2 separate regions of the Homo sapiens genome follow, and region 2 is linked to region 1. The links are contacts of gene promoters, found by promoter capture Hi-C in blood cells and fetal thymus (Javierre and others, 2016). All regions are on one chromosome and are shown on one strand. The core of a region is centred on a gene start or on the middle of the fragment in contact, and the rest is flanking DNA. Distances in the headings are between cores, read along the strand shown. Region 1 holds the start of MEIG1 (meiosis/spermiogenesis associated 1). Region 2 overlaps NMT2 (N-myristoyltransferase 2).

The links. Contacts are between HindIII fragments. The CHiCAGO score rates a contact against its expected background, and 5 or more counts as called.
Region 2: a contact is called between a fragment that was not itself captured here and the fragment with the promoter of MEIG1 in region 1, in 2 of 17 cell types (neutrophils and monocytes). The highest score is 6.8, in neutrophils.

The regions. Positions count from the first base shown.
Region 1 is chr10:14,956,450-14,961,429 of GRCh38, reverse strand. MEIG1 (meiosis/spermiogenesis associated 1) reads right to left here and starts at 2,042. Exons shown (of 3, transcript NM_001080836.3): 1 at 1,873-2,042. RefSeq lists a silencer at 1,770-1,819. The HindIII fragment of the contact is 3,683 bases long and covers 1,068-4,750 here.
Region 2 is chr10:15,113,227-15,118,206 of GRCh38, reverse strand. The region is part of intron 9 of NMT2 (N-myristoyltransferase 2); the gene reads left to right. The region is part of intron 1 of LOC105376431 (a long non-coding RNA gene); the gene reads right to left. Among named protein-coding and RNA genes, the nearest start is that of RPP38, 18 kb to the right of the region's middle. The HindIII fragment of the contact is 4,141 bases long and covers 199-4,339 here.

The DNA.
Region 1 (4,980 bases), core at 793-3,292:
AGCAATGCCTGAGTTTCTGGTTTGTGAAACTGAATTATATGAAATACTTAGGGTTTATATGCATACAGATGGTCCCGTGGAATGGTTCAACTCATATCTCCACTTTACCATGGTGCAAAAGCAATACGCATTCAGTAATTCGAGTACCCACGCAACCATTCTGTTTTCCACTTTGAATTCAGTATTCAGTAAGTTACATGACATAGTCAACACTTTATTATAAAATAGGCTTTGTGTTAGATGATGTTGCCCAACTGCAGGGGAGCTAAGTGTTCTGAGGACGTTTAAAGTTGGCTAGGTGCATTAAATGCATTTTCGACCTACCATGGGTGTATTGGGACATAATCCCATAGTTAAATTGAGGAGCATGTTATTTTATTTATTTATTTATTATTTTTTTGAGATGGAGTTTCACTCTTGTTGCTCAGGCTGGAGCGCCATGGCGTGATCTTGTCTCACCACAACCTCCGCCTCCCAGGTTAAAGCGATTCTCCTGCCTCAGCCTCCCGAGTAGCTGGAATTACAGGCATGCGCCACCATGCCTGGTTAATTTTTTTGTATTTTTAGTAGAGACGAGGTTTTCCCATGTTGGTCAGGCTGGTCTCGAATTCCCGACCTCAGGTGATCCGCCTGCCTCAGCCTCCCAAAGTGCTGGGATTACAGGGGTGAGCCACCACGCCCGGCCTCGGGCACGTTATTTTAAAAACACACCATCTCGGCGCGGTGGCTCACTCCTATAATCCCAGCACTTTGGGAGACCGAGGCGGGTGGATCACGAGGTCAGGAGATCGAGACCATCCTGGCCAACAAAGTGAAACCCCGTCTCTACTAAAAATACAAAAAATTAGCCGGGCATCGTGGCGGGCACCTGTGGTCCCAGCTACTCGGGAGGCTGAGGCAGGAGAATGGCGTGAACCCGGGAGGCGGAGCTTGCAGTGAGCCGAGATCCCGCCACTGCACTCCAGCCTGGGCTACAGAGCGAGACTCCGTCTCAAAAAACTAAAACAAAAATAAAAACAAAAAACACCATCTCAACTCCCTGACAATCTAAAGTTGGAACAGAAGCTTCTGATGTAGCCAGCCACCCAAATTCCCTTTTCACTTCCCTTTCACTCTGAAAAGCGCTTTTACTTTTAGTAGTATTAAAACTTCAAGAGCATTAGCCTCCCTAATAGTCCCTTTTATTCCTCCTATTAGATTATTTCTGTTCTTAAGAGGCAGCAGGAGGAGCCCTGTAACCAGCACGTAACCTTAGGCAAGGCCATGAACACGCCTGCGCCTGTTTCCTAACTTAAAGAGAAGCATTAGCCGGTCTCTAAGGTCCTGGAACTCCCGTCTGCTGTCGCTGGGCGTTCATTTGAAAGACAAAAGCGGTTCCGAAAGCACGCCCGGCGGTCCCTGCTCTGGGAGTGCTGACCTGCCTGTGTGCAGCACAAAACCGCTCCCTTCCGGCCCTCACAGCTAACCTGCAGTCCCCATCCCTCCAGCTTCCTTTCTGCCATAAATCACTAACTGTGTGGGAGATGAAATCCGCCTGGTGAAGGCTGGGACGGACAAAACACAGTATTCCAAAATCTAGGGCCCAAATCGGAGCCCTCGGAGACGCGGCCCCTAAAGCCAATGGGGTCCGGGGCGGCCCGGAAACTTCCGGGAGAACCGGACCCTGAGATTCTGGAAGGGCCAAATAGTGACCCTCTTCCCTAAAAATCACGGAAGAGACATGAAAACCACGGGATCTCCCTGGCAAACCTCAGGAGACAGCAGAGAACTGCGGAGCCGAGAAGGCGGGGCAAGAACTTCCGGGGTGGGGCTACGGCCGGGGCGCAGGGGTTGGCGGGCAGGGCCCTCGCCTCCAGCGACGCATCCACCCACCCCTGGGTCCGGCTCTACTGGGTTATCCTCGTTCCGCCGAGCAGGAGAGGCCGGGGGCGCCCGGGAGCTTGCAGGCGGGCGTGGGTGCTTGCGTTCTCTACTCGGGATCCGCGAGCAGGGCCAGCGAGAGGCCAAGTGTTGTGCCCTTCGCGACCCTCGCGTCTCTTAGTAACGCGATGAAGCTGCAGGAGCTCCCGGCTCCTTCAGGCCCCGCCCAGCTAGCTCAGGCCCCGCCCCCGGGAGTGGGCTTTTATGCGCATGCGCGAGGGCTGGGGTGGGCGCCGGCCCATCTTACTAAGCCAATGTAGGTCCCAGGTAGGAGCGCTGCCAGGGCTCACCCCTGAGCAGAGATGGAGGGCGAAAAAGGGTTACTTGCCGCTACTTGAATCCCAGACAAAATTCCCTGTGAAAGCGGATCACAGCACGGAGACTGTGTTTGTAGTTCCTGATAGTAGATATCTCCTATCTATTCATTTGCGAGGAATGAACCATTCCAGAGAGTCGCCATAGTGCCTGACAATCAGTAAACCTACAATAGATGATATCTATAGCTTTAATTATTTTTTCTAGCATTATCTATTACTATATTACAGTACTATCTAAGCGAAAAGTGATCAGATTCAAGATATACGGTTTTTTGTTTTTTTGTTTTTGTTTTTTTTTAGACGGAGTCTCGCTCCGTCGCCCAGGCTGGAGTGCAGTGGTGCTATCTCGGCTCACTGCAAGCTCCGCCTCCCGGGTTCACGCCATTCTCCTGCCTCAGCCTCCCGAGTAGCTGGGACTACAGGCACCCACCACCACGCCTGGCTAATTTTTTGTATTTTTAGTAGAGACGGGGTTTCACCGTGTTAGCCAGGATGATCTCGATCTCCTGACCTCGTCATCCACCCGCCTCGGCCTCCCAAAGAGCTGGGATTACAGGCGTGAGCCACCGCGCCCGGCCAATTTACATGTTTTGAATGTAGAGCCATCAGGACTTGTCAAATTGTTGAATGAAAGAAAGGAGCAATTGTGTGCTGGAGCCAGCTCATTAGAGCTCTGGAGACTCAGTAATTAAATTTTTAGGAATTTTTCTGAGCTCGTTGTTAAATACAAGCCATGAGCTGGAGTCAATGAAGATGACAAGGGCCTCGGGCACCTGCCCCAAACAAAACAAAAACACAAGACATATCACAAATTAAATTATATAAACTTCTAAATAAACGAGTCATACTAAAACAAAGGCAATACTTAGTAAAACTAAAAACAAAAAACTATTTACTTACAACTCCCAAATTTCTCTCTTCAGCCCGGTCTTTCTCTGAACTTTAGATTTGTATATCAATGTATATTCAACATCCACTTGATTGTACAAAACAACCTCCCCAAACACCTCCCTGCCAAAACAAAAACAAAAACCCTGCTCCTTCTTCATGTCTTTTAGTAGATGTGGCCTAGAGCCCTCTCTTTCCATATCCATCAATGCAACCTGCTGACTTTATAGCTTCTACTCAAGCCATCATAATTTTTCTTTTTTCTGGTAATTACAACCGTTCCCAACAGCTCTCTATGCCCCCTCTGTAGTCTGTTGTCAACACAACAGTCAATGCAATCTGTTTAAAACCTAAGTCAAGGCCGGGCGCGGTGGCTCACACCTGTAATCCCAGCACTTTGGGAGGCTGAGGTGGGCAGATCACGAGGTCAGGAGTTCGAGACCAGCCTGGCCAATATGGTGAAACCCTTTCTCTACTAAAAATACAAAAGAACTAGCTGGGAGTGGTGGCGTGCACCTGTAGTCCCAGCTACTCGGGAGGCTGAGGCAGGAGAATCGCTTGAACCCAGGAGGTGGAGGTGGAGGTGGAGGTGGCAGTGAGCCGAGATTGCGTCACTGCACTCCAGCCTGGGCATAGAGGGAGACTCCGTCTCAAAGAAAACAAAACAAAAAAACCTAAGTCAAATTATGTCAGTCCTCTGCTCACAACCCTGCAATGGCTTCCCATCTTATGGAGAGTGAAAACCAGAGGCTATACATGGTGAGCAAAGCCCTGTAAGATTTGCTCACAACACCCTCCCTCCTTCCTCTGTAGCCCCGGATCATTCTGCTGCAGCCACACTGGCCTAACACTGCCTAGCACACAGTAGGTGCTAAAGGGATATATTTTGAATCAGTATATTTCATCACTGCCCTTCCGATGCTGTGGAGGCAGCATGGCACGGTGGCTAGCAGTGTGTTGTCAGAGAGCACAGTGTCTAAAAGTGTGGTGGCCTTCTTGGATTTAAATCTGAGCTCTACTTACTATCAACATGACCCTGGACAAGCTACTTAACCTCCGTATCCTCAACTGGCAAATGAGGACAGAAAGTGTACCTATCTGATGGGCAGGTAGGATGTGAGGATGAAATAATGAGTATAAAACACTGATAACATCTGGAACTACATAAATGGTAGACAGTAATTACTTGCATTAGAAGGTACACTCCCACGTCCACAGGGATTTTTGTCTGCTTTTTTAGTTTTATTTTTTTGAGACAGGGTCTCTTTTGTCGTCTAGACTGGAGTGCAGTGGTGCCATCTTGGCTCACTGCAATCTCTGCCTCCAGGTTCAAGTGATTCTTGTGCCTCAGCTCCCAAGTAGTTGTTATTGTAGGTGTACCACCACACCCGGCTAATTCTTTTTGCATCTTTAGTAGAGCTGGGGTTTTGTCATGTTGGTCTTTAACTCCTGGCCTCAAGTGATCCACCTGCCTTGGCCTCCCAAAGTGCTGAGATTACAGGCAGGAGCCACCAGGATGGGCCACATTTTTTGTCTACTTTGCTCACTACTGTATCTTTAGTGTCTAAAATAGTGTCTGATACACAGTAGATGGTCAGTGAATGATTTGCTGAATGAATTAAGCTTCACCATCACATTTCCTGCAGTATTGCAGCAGCTTCCTACCTGAATTCCTGCCCCAGACTTCTTGAGTGTTGTGTTTTTTTGTTTTGTTTTGCTTTCGAGATGGAGTTTCGCTCTTGTTGCCCAGGCTGGAGTGCCATGGTCCAATCTCGGCTCAGTGCAATTTCCGCATCCTGGGTACAAGCAATTCTCCTGCCTCAGCCTCCTGAGTAGCTGGGATTACAGGCCCCTG
Region 2 (4,980 bases), core at 1,020-3,519, 160 kb before region 1:
TTTCTGGGTCCTCTATATTCTATTTCGTTGATCTCCATGTCTGTCTTTTCACTAATACCACACTGACCTCGTTGCTATAGCGATATAGGAAGCCTTAGTATCAGGTAGAGTAATTCCTCCCACTTTATTCTTGTTTGTCAAGATCATTTTAATTAACCTATTTCCTTTGCCTTTTGCATATACATTTTAGAATAAGCTTATTTTTGCCTACAAAATACCTTGCTGGTAGTTTGATAGGGATTACATTACACTGATAGATTAATTTGAGGATAATTGAAAAGTCTTCCAGTCCATGAACATGGAATGTCTCTACATTTATTTCGGTCTTTTAAAATCTCTTTTATCAGCATTCTCTAAGAGCATCCAGATCCTGTACATGTTTTCTTAAGTGTATAGCTAGATATTTCACTTTCTTTGGGGCGATTATAATGGTGTTGTGTTTTTAATTTCAGTTTCTGCATGTTCATTGTTAGCCTGTAGAAATGCTTTCTTTTGTGTGTTTGTATCCTACCACAGTGCTGAAATCACTTACTGGTTCCAGGAGTTTGTGTGTAGATTCCTTGTGATTTCTACATAGACAATGTGTCATCTGCAAATAGGGACAGCTTTATTGCTTCCTTTCCAATCTCGATGCCTTTATTTATTGGTCTTGCATTAATGCAGGACCTAGATCTTCCAGTGCTTTGTTGAGAAAGAGTGGGGAAGGTTGTCATCCTCGTCGTGTTCTTGATGGTGGGAGAAAAGCATTTACTCTTTCACCATGAAGTATGATGTTAGCTGTAGGTTTTTCTGTGGGTGCTCCTAATCAATTTGAGGTCATTCTCCTCTATTTCTAACTTGCTGAGAGTTCTTATGAATGGGCATTGGATTTTTTCCAGTGCTGCTTCTGCTTCAATAGATGTAATCATATGATTTTTCTCCTTTAATCTGTTGATATGTTAGATTACATTGATTGGTTTTCAAATGTTGGGTCACTCTTACATTCCTAGAAAATATCCACTTGGTCAGGGTGTATAATTATTTTTATACATTGTTGTATTGATTGCTAATATTTTGCTGAGTATTTGTTGAGTTCATGAGAGATATCTCTCTGGAGTGCCTTTTTTGTAATGTCTGTCTGGTTTAGATATCAAGATAATACTGGTCTCATAATAGGAGTTGGGAAGTATTATTTCCTCTTCTATTTTCTAGAAGAAATTGAGAATTGGTGTTAATTCTTTAAATGTTTGTTAGAATTCTCCAGTTGAAATGATCTGAGCTTAGCTGTTTCTTTTTTGGGAGTTTTTAAATAATGGACTAAATGTCTTTAATGGTTATAGCACTATTCAGATGATCTGTTTCATCTTGGTTGAGTTTTAATAGTTTTTGAGGAGTTCATCCATTTCTTCTAAATTGTTGAATGTATGAGTGTAATTAATGTTCATTTTATTCCCTTGTTATCCTTTTAGTGGCTGTGGGATCTGTACTGATATCTCTTCTTTCATACCAGATATTGGTGATTCGTGTCTTCTCTTTCTTTGTTTTTGTCCATATTGGTAGACTTGTATCATTTTATTGATTTGTTTCCCAGAGAACCAGACTTTTGTTGGATATTCCCTGTTGTCTTCCTGTTTTCAGTGTCATTGATTTCTACCCTCGTGTTTATTGTTTCCTTCTGTCTGCTTGCTTTGGGTTTATTTTGCTCTTCTTTTCTAGTTCCTTGAGGGAAGAACTTACTGACTTGAGACCTTTCCCTGTTACTAGTAAGCATTTAGTTCTATCAGTTTCCCTCTCTGCACTGCTTTAGCTATTTCTGACGTATTTTGGTATGTTGTATCTTCGTTGTCATTCACGTCTATGTATTTTTTGGTTTCGTTTGAGGCTTCCTCTTTAGCCCACCCCTACTTAGAATTGTGCTGTTCAATTTTGCTGTGTTTAGAGATTTTCTGTTGTCTCCCTATTACAGATTTCTAGTTTGATTCAATTATGGTTAAAGAACACACACTGTATGGTTTTGATTATTTTAAGGCTCTTGAGGTTTGTTTTATTACTCGGGATATGGACTGTCTTGATGGATATTCCATGGGTGCATGAAACGTGTATACCACTACGGTTGTGTGGAGTGTTCTTTGTATGGCAATTGCATCATGTTGATTAATTGAGTTATTCAGCTCTTCTGTTTCCATGCTGATTTTCTGTCTAGCAGTTCTATCACTTGATGAGAGGGGCATGGAAGTCCCCAGCTGTAATTGTGGATTTGTCTATTTCTCCTTCCAACACTGTCAGTTTTTCTTGATTTCTTCTGGGCCTCTTGTTTGATACTCACATGTATATTAGGGTCTTTGTGTCTCCCTAGTGGATTGATCTTTTTATCATAATGTAATACCTCTCTTTCTAATAATTTTCCTTGCTCTGGAGTATACTTTATTGTATATTACTGTGACCAGACCTGCTTTTAAAAATTGTTTGGACTTTTTCCATCCTTTTACTTTCAAACTATTGATGTTATTGAATTTGAAGTGAGTTTCTTGGAAACAGCCTATAGCTGGGTCATGTTTCTTTACCCACACTACTGATGTTTCTTTTGATTGGTGTATTTAGACCACTTACATAAAAGGTGATTATTGGTATGGTAGAGCTTAAGTCTACCATTTGATTATTTGGTTTCTTTATGTTTCTTCTGGTTCTTGTTCCTCTGTTTCTTTTTTCTTGCCTTGCTGTGGATTACTTGAATATATTTTAGGATACTGTTTTATTTATAGTACCTTTGGGTGTATTTGTATAGTTTTTATGATGGTTGATGTGAGTATTACAATATATATATGTGACTTATAGTCGATTGGTAACAACATTTATTACTTTGAGTCACCTTACTTTTATTTAGGTCACTTTACCTTTTTCATTTTTAAATATTGTTGTCTTAAATATCAGACAGTATTATGATTTTTGTTTTAATCATCAAGTATGATTTGTAACACTGATTAATAATGATGCTTGAGGAGAAGCATAATTTATTATATGTAGCCCAAATTTCTACTCTATTATTCTTCCCTCCTTCCTGATGCTTCAAGATTCCTTCTTTTATTATTTCCTTTCTATTTGAAGAAATTCCTTTAGCCAGTCTCAGGGTATGTCTGCTAGTGACACATTCTTTTGGTTTCCATTTGTGTGAGACTACCTCTGTTTTTAGATTTAGTTTCCCAATTTTTTTTTTTAATTTTTTTTGGAGACAGTGTCTTGCTCTGTCACCCAGGCTGGAGTACAATGGTGCAATCTCTGCTCACTGCAACCTCCGCCTCTTGGGTTCAAGCAATTCTTGTGCTCAGCCTCCTGTGTAGCTGGAACTACAGGCGCATGCCACCACACCCTGCTAATGTTTTGTATTTTAGTAGAGACGGGGTTTCACCACGTTGGCCAGGCTGGTCTCGAACTTCTGAGCTCAGAAAATCCACCCACTTTGGCCTCCCCAAGTGCTGAGATTACAGGCATGAGCCACCATGCCCAGCCCTAGTTTGCTAATATTTTACTTAGGATCTTCTATACTCACTACTGAGGTTGGCCATTAATTTCCCCTTCTTACCCTGTCCTTGTCCTGTCTTGATACCAAAGTTAGAATGAGCTGAAGAGCTTGTCCTCTCTTTTCTCTGGAACAGTGTATGTAATAATAGGGATTACTTGTTCCTTGAAAGTTGTTAGAAGTTGCTTATAAGCCATCTAGACATGGTGCCATGGTGGGTTTTGTTGTGAGCGGGGTTTTTTTGTTTTGTTTTGTTTTGTTTTGTTTTTTATCAGTCTTTACAATTGATTGGGTGTGAGGGACAATGGAAAGATCATCCCACTCTTCCCCAACAGTTGGTGATTCTCTGGTCATTTTAACAGCAAGAGAGGAAACAGTAATTTTACCAGCAATATGAATGTGAAGAAGTAGTTTTCTGAAAGCAGATGATGAAAATGGGGTGGGGAACCTAATCAGGTTCTGCAGGTGCCTGCAGTAATTCAGCGTATGAGATGGATATGAGAAATTCTTAGAAGAATCTAAAATCCTTATTAAACCTGAAGGTTGAATTCATCTCCAATACTGAGCTGCTAATATAGAGCAGTAGGGAATCACTGTAGATTAACCCCTTTAGTTTCTTGCTGGCTGAAGAAAGGTCTAATGACTCGGAAGCCTTTGAAAACCAAAGCATACATCCTTCTGGAATTTCCTTTTCTGCTGAAAGAAATACTAGCAGTGGCATGTGTGTGGTCCAGCCTCTTCAGCCGCACGATTCAAACACATCATATTCTAAAAGTCAGCAAGGCCACCACAGCTAATTACAACAACCCGAACAATACTGGCTAATTTCTTGTATTGGAAGCTTTGCCAGTGATGATGAAATGAATGTCATCCATTGTATCCCTTATTTTTGATAGCTGCAAAATTCTCCAGTTGTTCACATGTGTATATTTTGGTGCAGTAGTAAGACCTTTCACAAGCTTGCGAACTCTTCCAAACAGCTTCCAGACTCTACCCAACCTTACTTAGGCCTGATATAATTCTTTCTGTGTGCTAAGACAGTGTGAGATAGTACACAGTATCTTTTAGTTGGAGAAGGCAGCCCTCTAATCCTTAAAGCTTTTATTTCTGCAAAAACAATGAATCTGCTTTTATCACTGTTCCCTTAGTCTAAAGAATTGACTCATTTGTCAGCCTGAGGGAAGCTTTCCTTTTAGGACATTCTGCTTCTATCTTTCTTTCTTTTTTTTTTTTTTTTTTTTTTTTTTGAGTCTCATCCTGTCGCCCAGGCTGGAGTGCAGTGACACAATCTTGGCTCACTGCAACCTCCGCCTCTGGGGTTCAAGCGATTCTCCAGCCTCAGCCTCCCAAGTAGCTGGGATTACAGGTGTGCGCCACCACACCTGGCTAAGTTTTCATATCTTTAGTAGAGATGGGGTTTCACCATGTTGGTCAGGCTGGTCTCGAACTCCTGACCTCATGATCCACACGCCTCATCCTCCCAA